Linked DNA regions of Homo sapiens: region 2 is linked to region 1. Evidence: promoter capture Hi-C in 16 types of primary human blood cells and fetal thymus (Javierre and others, 2016). All regions are on one chromosome and are shown on one strand. The core of a region is centred on a gene start or on the middle of the fragment in contact, and the rest is flanking DNA. Distances in the headings are between cores, read along the strand shown. Region 1 holds the start of KCNJ12 (potassium inwardly rectifying channel subfamily J member 12). Region 2 overlaps DHRS7B (dehydrogenase/reductase 7B).

Region 1 (6,798 bases), core at 2,742-5,241:
GCCACAGCTAGGCAACAGGGCCTGGGGTCTCCAGCCCCAGAACTCAGCCCCCACAGCTCTCACCAGCACAGCAAGGCCTCTGTGGCTGGAAGAAGCAGTCCAGACATGGAATCATCGAGCATTTACTGGGCACCTACTCTGTGCCAGGGCTTAACTAGGTCCTAGGAATACAGCTCCCGGGAGCTGGGATGGCATGCAGGCCTCAGGCCCTGTGTGGGACCTGCCTGGTGGTAAGGCAGGGAGAAAGCTAGCCTGGCAGTCAAATGCCCCTGAGGGGTGTGTCTGTGGAATGGGGGAAGGTGCAGTTCTGTCCCTGGGAAAGCACCAGGGCTCTGGGTCTGAGCCCCACAGGCTGGTGCCTCCAGTGCCTCCCTGGGCCTCCAATCCCTGTCTGCACAATAGAGCTAATGCCACCCTCTGCACTGGCAGGCCATTAGGAAATTAAGTCAGCTGACCCAGGGCTGGGTCCTTGGCCAGTGCCCAGCGGGGGCTCTGGTCCTGCCCCGAGCCCAGCACCTCAGAAAACCCACCTGCCTCTGCCAGGCCCCCCCCCACCCCCAACCCCATGGTGCCTCTGAAGCTCTGGCCAACCTGCACACGGCCCAGTTTCAGGCCAGCTCTCTTTCATCTTCAGCCTTTCCCTGCTGCCGTGTCCCCATCACGCTGCCAGTTCCCGGCACAGCCATCCCGTGGGGCTGAGCCCCCACCCACCGCACCTTCCATGTGGCCAGCCAAGCCTCCACCCCTCCTGCTGCCCGCAAGCTGCCCCCTCCCTGACTCTCCTCCACGCTAGCCGGTGGCAGGGCTCCAAGGGCAGGCCCGGGGAGGGGCAGGTGTACCCATGTGTCGCTCACAGTAAAGCCCTGGCCAGGGCCCAGCCACAGGCACCAGCTGCACCTGTTGGAGGAAGGGCCCAGCCCAGAGCTGGGCCTGGGAGCAGGGGGGGTGAGGGTGGCCACTGGGTGGGCACCGTGTGTACCAGTAGCCTTCTGCCTGGGGACCTGGCGAGGGCCACAGAGGTTGATGACAGTAATGATGCACTCACTTCCGCCCCAGCCATATGCCAAGGCCTCCGGGTGCCACGCTTGGTACTGCCAACTGTGGCCCAGGGTACCGGAGGCCTGGCTAGGCAGAGAAAACTGCCCATAGGCAGAACCGGCCCCAGTGCTGCAGAGCTGCAGGTGCTGCTGCTGCTGTTACTCCTGTTATCACTGCTGTCATTATTATTTTGCTGTTGCAGGGCCACTCAGTGTTACTTTGTCCTGCTTCAAGGAGACCCAGGGATGGGGACACCATGGCCCTGGGGCAGGAAGGCTGGTGGGGTAAGCGCCTGGCCTGGAAAGAGCTAGGTGAAGGCATCTGTCCAAACCCAACCCACTGCATGGTTTTAGGCAATACCCCTCCACCACTTCCCAGGCACCTCTTCCTTCCAGCACAGTTGAGGCACATTCCTGGAGGGGTCCCCTCCGGGGCAGCCTGGAAACCTTATGGGGTTTTGACGGGGTAGCTGCAGGGGGAGTGTCCAGAGATGGACTGACAGCTCAGGTCCTGCCCCTCCCAGAGAAGGCTCCACCCCCTTCAGTGCTGGGGATGAGGGGTGTCAGCCATGCCCTCCCCTGGGAGGGGAAAAAGGAGGTGATAGAGGACTTGGAGCCCCTACCTGCCAGCTCTGGGTCAACAGCCAGCATTTACAGACTGCCTACTGTATGCCTACAGCGGCCCTCCAGTGGAGAAGAGGGGTGTCCCTGTGGCCCAGCACACTGGAGCCACCCTCCTCGTCTCCAGGGTGCTCGAGTGAGTGCCCTCCGCCCTCACTCCCTGCTCTCTCTCAGGCGGCTTGGCCCCACCAAATGGCAGGCCCCCAGGGTCCCCCTCCTAGAGCTGCCAACCTCGGGTCCCCTGTCTGGTTGGAGGTGCCACCAGAGAACTGAGGGGCAGACTTCGCTGTGAAGTCTTTTGTTGGGGGGGGCGGTCCCAGCAGACACTGAGGGGCTCTTCTCAGAATACAGAAGGGAGTACCCCTCAAAAAGAGCGAAAGCCTCTGGTGGCGCCCAGGGCTGAGATGGACCTCCCCTCTCTGACCCTCGCCCGCCACAGGGCGGCGGTCCAGGGCGGAGCTGCGCGAGGAGGGGCCGCGGAGGTGCAGCGCAGCGCGAGGGAGGCTGGGGTCCAGCCGCGCGGCCAGGGACCGGCTCTCCTTTGGCATCTCAGAGGGGGCGAAGGCTAGGCCCAAGGCTAACGCCTTCCGGGTTCGCACCTTCCAAAGGCGGCTGCCGATTTCAGTGGCGTGTGGGCGCCTCGGCGCTCTCGGAGACGGAGCCTGTGAACCTGGGTTTGGGGCGCAGATGTGGGAGCCAGGAGGTCCCCAGCGCTTTATTGCAGGGCTCGAACCTGGGTATAGGGGAGCAAAAAAGAAACTAGAAATGGCCACAGGCAGCGCGGTACTCTAAGATGGGAACGCCCCCTGGGAAATGGGGAGGGGGAGGTCCCAGGTGCGGGCGAGTCCAGGCTGTGAGGAGGCAGGAAAACCTCCCAGAACAAGACCGTCCCCAAAGAAACACTTTGACCCCCATTCTGATCACAGGTTTTAAAATATTCACATGACATGGGCACGCTGGATCAAAACCGAGGCACAGACACTCGCTTGGGCCTCAACTCCCATCTGAACCCCCCAAGGAGCGCCCCACCCCAGCTGTCTCTGCCCATGAGCCCCTGATTCCCGCCCCGCTCCCCCAGGGCACCCGGAGAGGCCGTGCGCGCGCAGGGTGGACCCTGGCCCTGAAACCCTGGGAGCTTCTCAGCCAGCGGCCATCCCCTCGGAGATCAAGGCCGACTTCTAAAAGCAAAAGGGAGCCTCTGGACTTGGCTGACTTGCTGGCATGGAATCATTTCCAGAATATTTTTACTCCATTACAGCACGGGAGGTGAGAAAGAGACACGACTCCAAGAACCCGCAGGTCTCTGACGGGAGGCATTCTCGGGGCGGCTCATATAGCCCGGGCGCCCACCTCCGAACCCCACCTCGATCGCGGGGTCTCCGGGAAGGTCACGCGTAGGACCCGTGCCGCGCGCCAGAGTGCTTCCGCACGCTCCCTCCCGAGCCCCCTAGTGCAAACCAGTCAGAGGGGGGCCGAGGGCTCCTCAAAGTTTCCCGGAGCGCCCCCCAGGACGAAGGTTAGCCAGGAGCAAAGTTCCTTGTGGTGGTAGCCGGAGACATGGCAGGAAAAGAAAAGCTCGCAGTCAGCATTTCCTCCGATGTCTCACCAAGGGAGGGAAAAAAATAAAACGAGAGGAAGAAAACACCCTCCCGCTCCACCTTCCCTGTTGCTGCACAACCTCGTGCTAGCTCCGGGCCGGGCTAGTGGCGAGGCGCGGCCTGCGGGGAACTGGGGCCGGGCCCGGGAGGGACCATGCGCCCGCGGCCGCGCACTTACCTCGGTCAGTGGCCCGGGCGCGGCGCGCTCGGCGTCCTCCAAGCTCCGGGCGGCCGTTCCTGGCCCCGGCAGCTGCCGCGCTGGCTGCATCGCCGCCGCTGCCGCCACCGCCTCAGGGCAGCTCCCGGGGGCGCTCCATGCCGAGGGGCGCGTCTTCTCTGCAAAGCGGATCGCCCTGGTCCAGCCACGGGTCGGGGGCGCGCGCCTGGACGGCGCCCCCGGCCGCTGGGCGCTCGCTTGGGCCGGGGCGGCTGGCGTCGGTCCCTCGGTCCGGCTGTGAGCACGGCCGGCCCACCCCCTCCCCCGCCGGCTGTTATCTGATCTCGGGCAGGGCCCGGCGCGCTCCCCTACGCCCCGGCGCCCCGCACCTCCTCGCAGGCTCTGACCGCGCCAGTCCCCCTCCCCCGGCTACTGTTCCCAGGGAGGCGGCAGCAGTGGCGGTGTGGCCGGGAGAAGACGGGGAGCGAGGAATGGAGGGCGAGGAGGCGGCGGGAGGCAGAGGCTCGGCGCGCACCCAGCTCCGCGCCTCGCTCCACCGGAGCTCAGCTCGGCAACTCCTCTAACTCTCCGCGGAGAGCACGCCCGCCCCGCGCCGCGCCGCGCCGCGCAGCCGCTGCACCAGCCTACCACGGCTCCGGCCTGGCCCCGAGCCCCTCCTAGTCCCGGGCCGCCCCCTACACACACACCGCCAGCCACTTGCGCACTGGGACGCGCGCGCGCACACACACATATATATATACACACACACACACACACACACACACACACACACAGGCACGACTTCCCGGGGACATGCGCGCACACACACATACACACACATGCAGGCACGTCCGCCGGGGACACGCGCGCACGCACAGGTGCATGGCGAGCACACACACAGGCATAAACATGCAGGATACATGCCCCCACATGCATGATGTTCGCAGGGGCACATGTGCACACTCGCTCATATGTGCACATGCAGGATGGCATCTGCACGTGTGCATACGCACACACAGGTCTAAGCTTGTGCATTCCCACAGAGCCCTTTTCCCCTGCACACCAGGCACGCACCCTCTACACACACCATCCCACCCTAATAGCATTTTTCTCCTCTCCATCTTGAGCTGCTTGGCTTCTCCCATCTCCTGCCTTCTCTGTGCTCCTCCCTGGACCTCTCTCTGCCGACCGGATCCCCATGTGACCCCCTTCTCTTTCGAGCCCCTGTCTCTGGAGGCTCAGGCTTTCTTCCCAACCTGTCCCCAAATGCCCTGCCCTCCCAGCTTTCTGAGGCCTATTGTCTGGGCCTCATATCTCTGAGCCTCCCGCAGGGGCCAAGTCTTTCATCCTGGCAGACAGACCTGCTCGCCTGGACACTGACCCAGGGGAACTCCATTTTGTCACCAGTCTGACCCCCAGCTCGGCCCTAGGGCCTCAGAATTGGGCCGAGGAGGCCAGTCTGTGCCCAGAGCATGAGCCTCAAAGGGCTCCTTGGCCCCCTTGGCCTCCAGCTTCCCCTTTAATGTGAAATATAATTATGTGTCTGCACAGCAGGGAGACTGGCTGCAGGATTCTAACCGAGGAGGACGGCTCTCTGGCCCGCACCCAGATTGCTGGCGGCTCAGAGCAGAGTGATCTGCAGGCCCCACCAGCCCTAGGATCCTGGCCCCAGGCAGCTGGTGGGTGAAATCCAGCCCAGCACTCACCGACATCAGTCTGCCCTGGGTTTGAATCCCACCTCAACTGACTAGCTGTGGGACAGGTCACTTCACCACTCAGTGCCTCTGTTTCCCTGTTGTCAGTAGAAATCACTACACTCATGGGGCTGTAGCAAGGATTAAATGAGATGAGTCTACCTAAAGTGCTTAGCACTTGACTTGGCTGGTAAAACAGCCAGGCGGAGCACTCAATATGTTCTGAGCTCTGTGCTATGGACCCAGCTAGAATTATTTCATTACCACTGCGGCCATCTGTGGTGGATAAGCTCATTGGCTCCATTTTACAGATGAAGGAACTGAGGCACAGAGGGGTGGTCACTTGCTTAATTACAGAACTACCAGATGGTGGAGCCAGTACGCAGAATCAGGTGTGTCCTCAACTTAGGGCTGCAGTGGAGAAAGAAGGGGCATCGCAGAAGTCTGCAGCCCCCACCCTGCCCTGCCTGGCACACTGTGTCCTGGTTTCCTCCTCCTCCTGGGAGAAACAGCCTCCCAGGGGACCAAAAGCTCTCAGGAAACTTCCTTCTTCTCCCTCCGAGTGACCAAGGAGGGAAATGACTCAGCTCCCCACCTGCCCCTGCTCCATTTCCCAGATGGGGAAGCCCAAGCCAGCTGCGGAAGAAGCCTCAAACCAGCTCCCACCCTCAGAGACCACTCAGCTGTCCCAAGAGGAATGGGGCCTGAGACATCCCTCCCTCGAGGCCTTACTCTGGTGGCCTAGAAAGGGGCAAGGGAATGGACGGGAACACCTCAGGGCTCCTCTGGGTCTAAGATTCTGACAGCTCCTGGGACAAGTGGCTGTGCCCAGGGCATCCTCACGCCTGGAACACCACCCCCCCCTTCCCACACACACACACACAGGGCCCCTGCCCAGGGGCTCGACACCCAAGATGACTACTGTGAGTCAGGCCAGGTCTCCGCCCCTCCCTATCCCCACTCCCAGAGCCATTATCAGACCCATTTCACAAAGAGGGCAAGCGTCTTGCCCAAGGTCACCCAGCAGAGACGCAAGCCTGACTCCCTGGGCCACTCCCTTGGGCTCCACGTCCCACCCTCCCAACCCACGTGCAGGGTCAGAGTTCAATTCTTAATTGTAATTGCAACCCATGAGCAGCCATTAAGGGCCCCTCAAAGCAAATCCCCTCTGCCACGCCACTGGGCACCAGCCTCCCTCCAGGAGGGGCTGGGACACAAAGAGGCAGGGATGTGGGCAGATCTCTCCCTAAGCAGCTCACACATCTGCCCCAGGGATCCCCACGTGGGCAGAGGGGCTCACGGCCCTCCCGGGGTGCTGCGTGAAGCCTGAGCAGAGGACATCCTGCCCCTACAGTGTGGAGGGGGCAGTGTCGAGAGTGGCTGGGTGAGGCCAAATGGACTGAGCCCAGTACCAACGCTGCCCAGCAGGAGACCTGGGACACGTCCCCTGCTAAGGCCCCACTTCCCTCTCTGTAAAATGGGGGTGATCGTGACAGCCGAGGCCATGAGAGTAGTAACTTTCCTGGCACAGCCATGGGAGAAGCCAGGGAGATGAACAGCAGTCAGCTGTCCCACCACGCACACACCTTCCCAACACCCTGAATTTTGTGCCCTGCACCTGGCTTTCCCTTGATCCCAGATTCTTTCTTCCCCTCCAGGATGGGAGCTTCTCCAAGACAGGGGTGAGACTG
Region 2 (6,470 bases), core at 1,466-3,965, 240 kb after region 1:
GCTTTCCTTTAAGGAATCAAACGTGACATATAGAGCCAGTAAAGCCCCTGGAAAATCTGGCCTCATATTTTGTGTATACAGTCCATGTACAGGGTTTCTGACCTGTGGTAAGTAAAGAATGTCACTTTCTGACAGTCCCAGAAGCCCCAGGTTTATCTTGGAACCTAAAGAGGTGAGGAAATTCACCCAGCTCATAGGTATTTGATGACACAAATCATGGCTCAGCTTTAGAAAGTCTTATCTGAGATTCCTCCTATGGAACAAGTTCCATCAAAGCAATTTAAAAGTGTATGTAAAAAAAAATTATTCTTGCTGCACTGTATACAAATAATTAGGTCAAGTATAATAAAGCAAACCAGTCCTAGCGTGACTTGTCTTTGGCAAAATTGGGAAACCAGAGAGAGAAAAATTATGTTTCAAAACTATAGTAAACCTGTTGTTGGAGTCTAGTCTTGCCTAATGTTTTTCCAATTTTTATTATTTTCTACAGTTTGAACTGAATTCTAATTTTTCTTGGCTATAAGTCTTCAAAATAATGTTTTCAGTTTTTTTCCTTTTTTTTTTCCATTTTTCCTAATTTGGAGTCACTGAAAACTAAGCTGTGCTTTCTTAAAGCCCTGCAAACTGAAGCCAGACAACTTACACTTCAGAAGAAAATAATAGCAACCTATTTACATACATAAGCCACTTTCATACCTGCCTACTAATGTGTGGACTTCAGAGTAATGTGGCCAATATCGATTTTTCCAGGATTGTTCTTTTGTTTGTTGTTGTTTTTCTCCCTTCCTCCCCCCATTTTCTCTTCACAGGACATGAGACTTCACAACCTGCTAAGAATGAGCTTTCAGGACCTAACTAACTAGGAATAAACCATCCTAACCATGAGAGATCAGATGAAACTTGAGACCAGAGATTCATTTTCTTCTAAAATGCTTTCTCCAAATGATTTTAAAAAAGAAAAGTGGGGAAATGTGAAAGGAAAATATCTTGGGCTCCTTCTAGCTGGGAACTGTTCAGGGCAAACCTGCCTCCCATTCTATTCAAAGTCATCCCTCTGCTCACAGAGATAGATGCATATTCCGATTGCCTCCTTTGGAAGTCTCATCAGAAACTCAAAAGAATGCAACCATTTGTCTCTCACCTATCTGTGACCTGGAAGCCCCTGAAGGGGGGCCCCACTTTGAGTGGTCCTGCCTTTCTAGATGGAATTAAAGTACTTCTTACATATATTGATTGATGTCTCATGTCTCCCTAAAATGTATAAAATCAAGTTGTGCCCTGACCACCCTGGGCACATGTCATCAGGACCTCCTGAGGCTGTGTCATGGGCACATCCTCAACCTTGGCAAAATAAACTCTCTGAATTAACTAAGACCTGTCTCAGATTTTCTGGGTTCACAGTACCATACATGGCTATTGAAAAGGAAAAATATTAATAACAATTACTAACTTTTTTAAGTATTTGCAATGTGCCAGACACTGAAATACACATTCTCCATACCCATGATCTCATTTCATCCTCACAGCAATCCGGAGGTAGGTATGACAGTTATTTTCATTTGCTAAATAAGAAAAGTACGTGAAGTCACATGGCTAGCAAATGGTGGAAAAGAGATTTCAACCAACGTACTCAGACTCTGAAGCCCACATTCTTAACTCTTAAGTGCATCAAATAGGGGGTCATGTAAAAAAAAAAATCCTTTAGCTGGAACTTTAAACAGGAAGGATTCTAATACTGTCTAAGAGATGAAGAGATCCCTAAGCTTAGCTCTAATCACCTTGTTATAAGAAGTTTAGCCTAAAGCTGCCTCCTTACATATTTTAAGTTTAGCCTAAATGTTCCTCCATAGCTAGTGACCTGTAACCTAACTGGATGTGCAAACAAACTTTAACCTACTCTTGTAACAAGTAGCCCAGTCTCAGCCAATCACAGCAGCCCAGTTTCAGCCAGTCATAGGCAGCCAACTGCTCAAATAAGGCAAACACTAGGCTGCAACCAATCTAGCTCTTTCTACACCTCACTTCCCTGTTTTTTTTTTGTTTTTTTTTTTTTTTTTTTGAGACAAGGTCTCCCTCTGCCACCTAGGCTGGGGTGCAGTGGTGTGATCATAGCTCACTGCAGCCTCAACCTCCCAGGTTCAAGCGATCCTCCCACCTCAGTCTCCTGAGTAGCTAGGACCACAGGCATGAGTGGTACACCTGCATATCTCTATCTATCTATCTATCTATATATATATATATTTTTTTTTTTTTAAGAGATGGGGTCTCCCTATGTTGCCCAGGGTGGTCTCAAACTCCTGGGCTCAAGCAATCCTCCTGCCTTGGCCTCCTAAAGTGCTGGGATTATAGGTGTAAGCCACTGGGCCTGGCCTGTACCTCACTTCCATTTTCTGTATGTCACTTTGCTGTTTCTGTCCACAAATACTATCCAACCATGTAGCTACCCCAGAGTCACTCTGAACCTATTCTAGTTCCAGAGGCTGCTGATCTGCAAATCATTCTTTGTTCAGTTAAACTCTGTTGAATTTAGTTTGTCTGAAGTTTTAACAACTCAAACAGAATACAAAGGCTTCTAAGCAACAATTGAACATAAACAAGTTAGCTGCTTAATAGGAACTCAGTACAGTTTCTTTGATTCAGTTTAGCTAACATTTTAAACCAATCTGGATTATAATGCCATACTCATAGAGAATTCTGCAATGGTAGTTTCTTAATGTAGTAGTATCCAATTTAATGACCACTAAGTGCTGCTCATATAAACTGGAAAAATTTATATCCCCTTCAGAAATTAGTGTTCCTAGTACAAACATAGCCTTACTTAATAAAACACTAGCTAAGTACAGCAAGGAAGCTCAAACCACTGGTAAGCAATATTCAATCAATTTATCAGTCATCTGAACCAGAGCAACTCTATTTTGAATAGAGGCTGGGTAAAATAAGGCTGAGACCTACTGGGCTGCATTCGCAGGTTAGGCATTCTAAATCACAAGATGAGATAGGAGGTCACATAAGATACAGGTCAGAAAGACCTTGCTGATAAAGCAGGCTGAGGTAAAGAAGCCGGCCAAAACCCACCAAATGGAAAATGGCAATGAAAGTGACCTCTGGTCATCCTCACTGCTCATTATATGCTAATTATAAGGCATTAGCTCGCTAAAAGACACTCCTACCAGCACCATAACAGTTTACAAATGCCATGGCAATGTCAAGAAGTTACCCTATATAGTCTACGAAGGGGAGGAACTCTCAGTTCCGGGAATTACCCACCCCTTTCCTAGAAAATTCATGAATAATCCACCCCTTCTTTAGCATATAATCAGGAAATGACCATAAAAGTGGCCAGCCAGCAGCCCTCAGGGCTGCTTTGCCTATGGAGTAGCCATTCTCTTGTTTCTTTACTTTTCTAATAAACTTGCTTTCACTTTTCTCTATGGATTGGCCTCAAATTATTTCTTACACAAGATCCAAGAACCCTCTCTTGAGGTCTGGATCAAGACTCTTCTCCAGTAGCAAATTCAGTGGCCATCACAGACCTCTCCCTCCACTAAGCAGTTTAAATGGCCAAGCCTCATGTTACTGGGAACTTTAGAAGATAGGAGGGAGAGCTCAGGTAAAATCCTAAGGAATTTGTTGTATTTCCTATCTGGGTGGGTGGCAAGAAGCTTTCAAACTGAATTTACACACCATTCAATCCCAATTTTCACCCTCATGCTTATGGCCTTCCAGAATAGAGAGTTCATTTTTGCATTAAAATAACATTGGCTACCAAAGAAAGGTTTCTTATGTGTATAATGGGGTGGGAATGAATAATTCCTACACCATCCAACATTATGGATGTTGCTCTAGTCCAACATTTTACTGTACTGTAAGTAAATTTTTTTTTTAGTTGTCATGCAAACATATAGTAAAAATTTTAAAACTGAATTTTCACTGTTTCCAAAGGGAAAGAGATCTTCTCTCCTTCCTTTTCCTCACAGCATTTCTTTGAAAAACCCAGTATTTATAAATTATTCCTCTGTCCCTTTGATATGTATGCAAATCTTTTTAAAGGCTAAATAAACTACCCCTAGCTTAGCTTGTTTAAACCCAGTAAATACAGTAAAACCCAGGACTGTTTTTCTGAAGGGCCTGGAACCCCCCCTTTACAAACGTACGTACATACATACGTAAGTTTATTTATTTATTTATTTATTTATTTTTTGAGGTGGAGTCTCACTCTGTAGCCCAGGCTGGAGTACAGTGACACAATCTCGACTCATTGCAACCTCTGCTTCCCAGTTCAAGCGATTCTCCTGCCTCAGCCTCCTGAGTAGCTGGGATTACAGGCACACGCCACCACACATTTTTGTATTTTTAATAGAGACGGGGTTCGCCATGTTGGCCAGGCTGGTCTCGAACTCCTGACCTCAGGTGATCTGCCCTCCTCAGCCTCCCAAAGTACTGGGATTACAGGCGTGAGCCACCGTGCTCAGCCAAACCCCCTATTTTAAATGGAAATATCCAGGAAGACAATGCCCCAGCCCTATCCCTATCACTGTGGAAGTTTAGCCTAGGCACCTCAACTACTTGTTTTATCATAGAGCTGTTTCATGTTTTCCTTTGGAAAAAAGTAACTAGGTAGCACAGATGACCAACCCAATTACCAGGTGAATTTAGAATGAACTATGAAAACATGTACAGCAAATGGTGCTGTCAAGTCTTCTTATAAGAGGACAAATTACCATTAATCTTGAGACTACATAATGGGTTGTATCTGCTCAGCTGCATACAAATAAGTGGTGGGATTTCTTTTCTGAAAGAAACTGCATTAGCATATTATCCATAATACATTCCAGTCTGGTTTAATGCTTATTTTTTTCTTTTTCTTTTTTTTTTTTTTTTTTTTGAGTCAGGGTCTTACTCTGCTGCCCAGGCTGGAGTGCCGTAGTATTATCACAGTTTACTGTAGCCGCAAACTCCTGGGCTCAAGTGATCCTCCTGACTCAGCCTTCTGAGTAACTGGGACAACAGGTACACACCAGCACGCCTAGATAATTTTTTATTTTTTGTAGAAATGGGGTCTCCCTATGTTGCCCAGGCTAGTCTCAAACTCCTGGCCTCACATGATCCTCCCACCTCAGCCTCCCAAAGCGCTCGGATTATAGGTGTGAGCCACCACCTACAGCCTCACAGGGGTCTTTAAGTAACAAGATACAAGCTCCTCCTAGTCTCAAGACCTCACACATGCCCTTCCCTCCTCCTGTTAGCTCTTTGTCCAATTTAACTCCAACTCAGTCCTTTAAGTCTCAGCTAAATATTATTTTCTTGGGAAAGCCTTCCCTGTCTCTCCTCATTTCCCCCTCCGCATGCCGGTGACTCCATTATGTATCCTCACAGCACCCTCTACTGTCCTCCACAGCATGCATCACAATCGTAATTAATATTTAGTTTTATTTATATATTTACTATCTCCCTTGCTAGATTTATAAGCAATTTAAAGACAGGGGCTTTATCTGTTTTGATCATCATTGTATCCACAACACCCAGCACAATGCTGGTACACTGTAAACGTTCAATAAGTATCTGAAGGAATGAATGAAATTTGTAGCTAAGCGCTAGGTTCTGGAGTGACATGGCATTGGATCGGCCTTTACTAGCTCTATGCCTTTGTTGTTGTTTGTTGTTGTTGTTGTTGTTGTTTGAGACAGGGTGTCACTTTTTTTTTTTTTTTTTTTTTAAGACGGAGTCTCCTCGCTCTTGTCGCCCAGGCTGGAATGCAGTGGCGGCATCTCGGCTCACTGCAACCTCTGCCTCCCAGGTTCAAGCGATTCTCCTGCCAAAGCCTCCCGAGTAGCTGGGATTACAGGCGCCCACCACCACGCCCGGCTAATTTTTGTTTGTTTGTTTGTTTTGAGACAGAGTCTCACTATGTCGCCCAGGCTGGAGTGCAGCGGCGGGATCTCGGCTCACTGCAAGCTCCGCCATCCGGAGCACGCCATTCTCCTGCCTCAGCCTCCCTAGTAGCTGGGACTACAGACGCCCGCCACCAAGCCCAGCCAATTTTTTTGAATTTTTTTAGTAGAGACGGGGTTTCACCGTGTTAGCCAGGATGGTCTCGAGGTCCTGACCTCGTGATCCGCCCGCCTTGGCCTCCCAAAGTGCTGGAAATACAGGCGTGAGCCACCGCGCCCAGCCAATTTTTGTATTTTTTAGTAGAGACGGGGTTTCACCACGTTGGCCAGGCTGGTCTCGAACTCCTGACCTCAGGTGATCCGCCCGCCTCAGCCTCCTAAAGTGCTGGGATTACATGTGTGAGCCACTGCGCCCAGCCAAGACAGGGTCTCACTTTGTCACCCAGACTTGAATGCAATGGCGTGATCTCGGCTCACTGCAGCCTGTCTCCCAGGTTCAAGCAATCCACTTGCCTCAGCCCCAACAAATAGCTGGGACTACAGGCGTGTGCTACCTTGCCTGGCTAATAGCTCTATGCC

The links. The method cuts DNA at HindIII sites, captures the fragments that hold promoters and counts their contacts. A CHiCAGO score of 5 or more calls a contact.
Region 2: a fragment that was not itself captured here is called in contact with the fragment with the promoter of KCNJ12 in region 1 in 1 of 17 cell types (M0 macrophages); the score reaches 5.4 in M0 macrophages.

Annotation. Positions count from the first base shown.
Region 1 is chr17:21,373,550-21,380,347 of GRCh38, reverse strand. It overlaps KCNJ12 (potassium inwardly rectifying channel subfamily J member 12), which reads right to left and starts at 3,991. Exons shown (of 3, transcript NM_021012.5): 1 at 3,435-3,991. RefSeq lists an enhancer at 6,268-6,798. The HindIII fragment of the contact is 5,395 bases long and covers 1-4,441 here.
Region 2 is chr17:21,128,120-21,134,589 of GRCh38, reverse strand. The region is part of intron 1 of DHRS7B (dehydrogenase/reductase 7B); the gene reads right to left. Among named protein-coding and RNA genes, the nearest start is that of DHRS7B, 4.4 kb to the right of the region's middle. The HindIII fragment of the contact is 1,899 bases long and covers 1,766-3,664 here.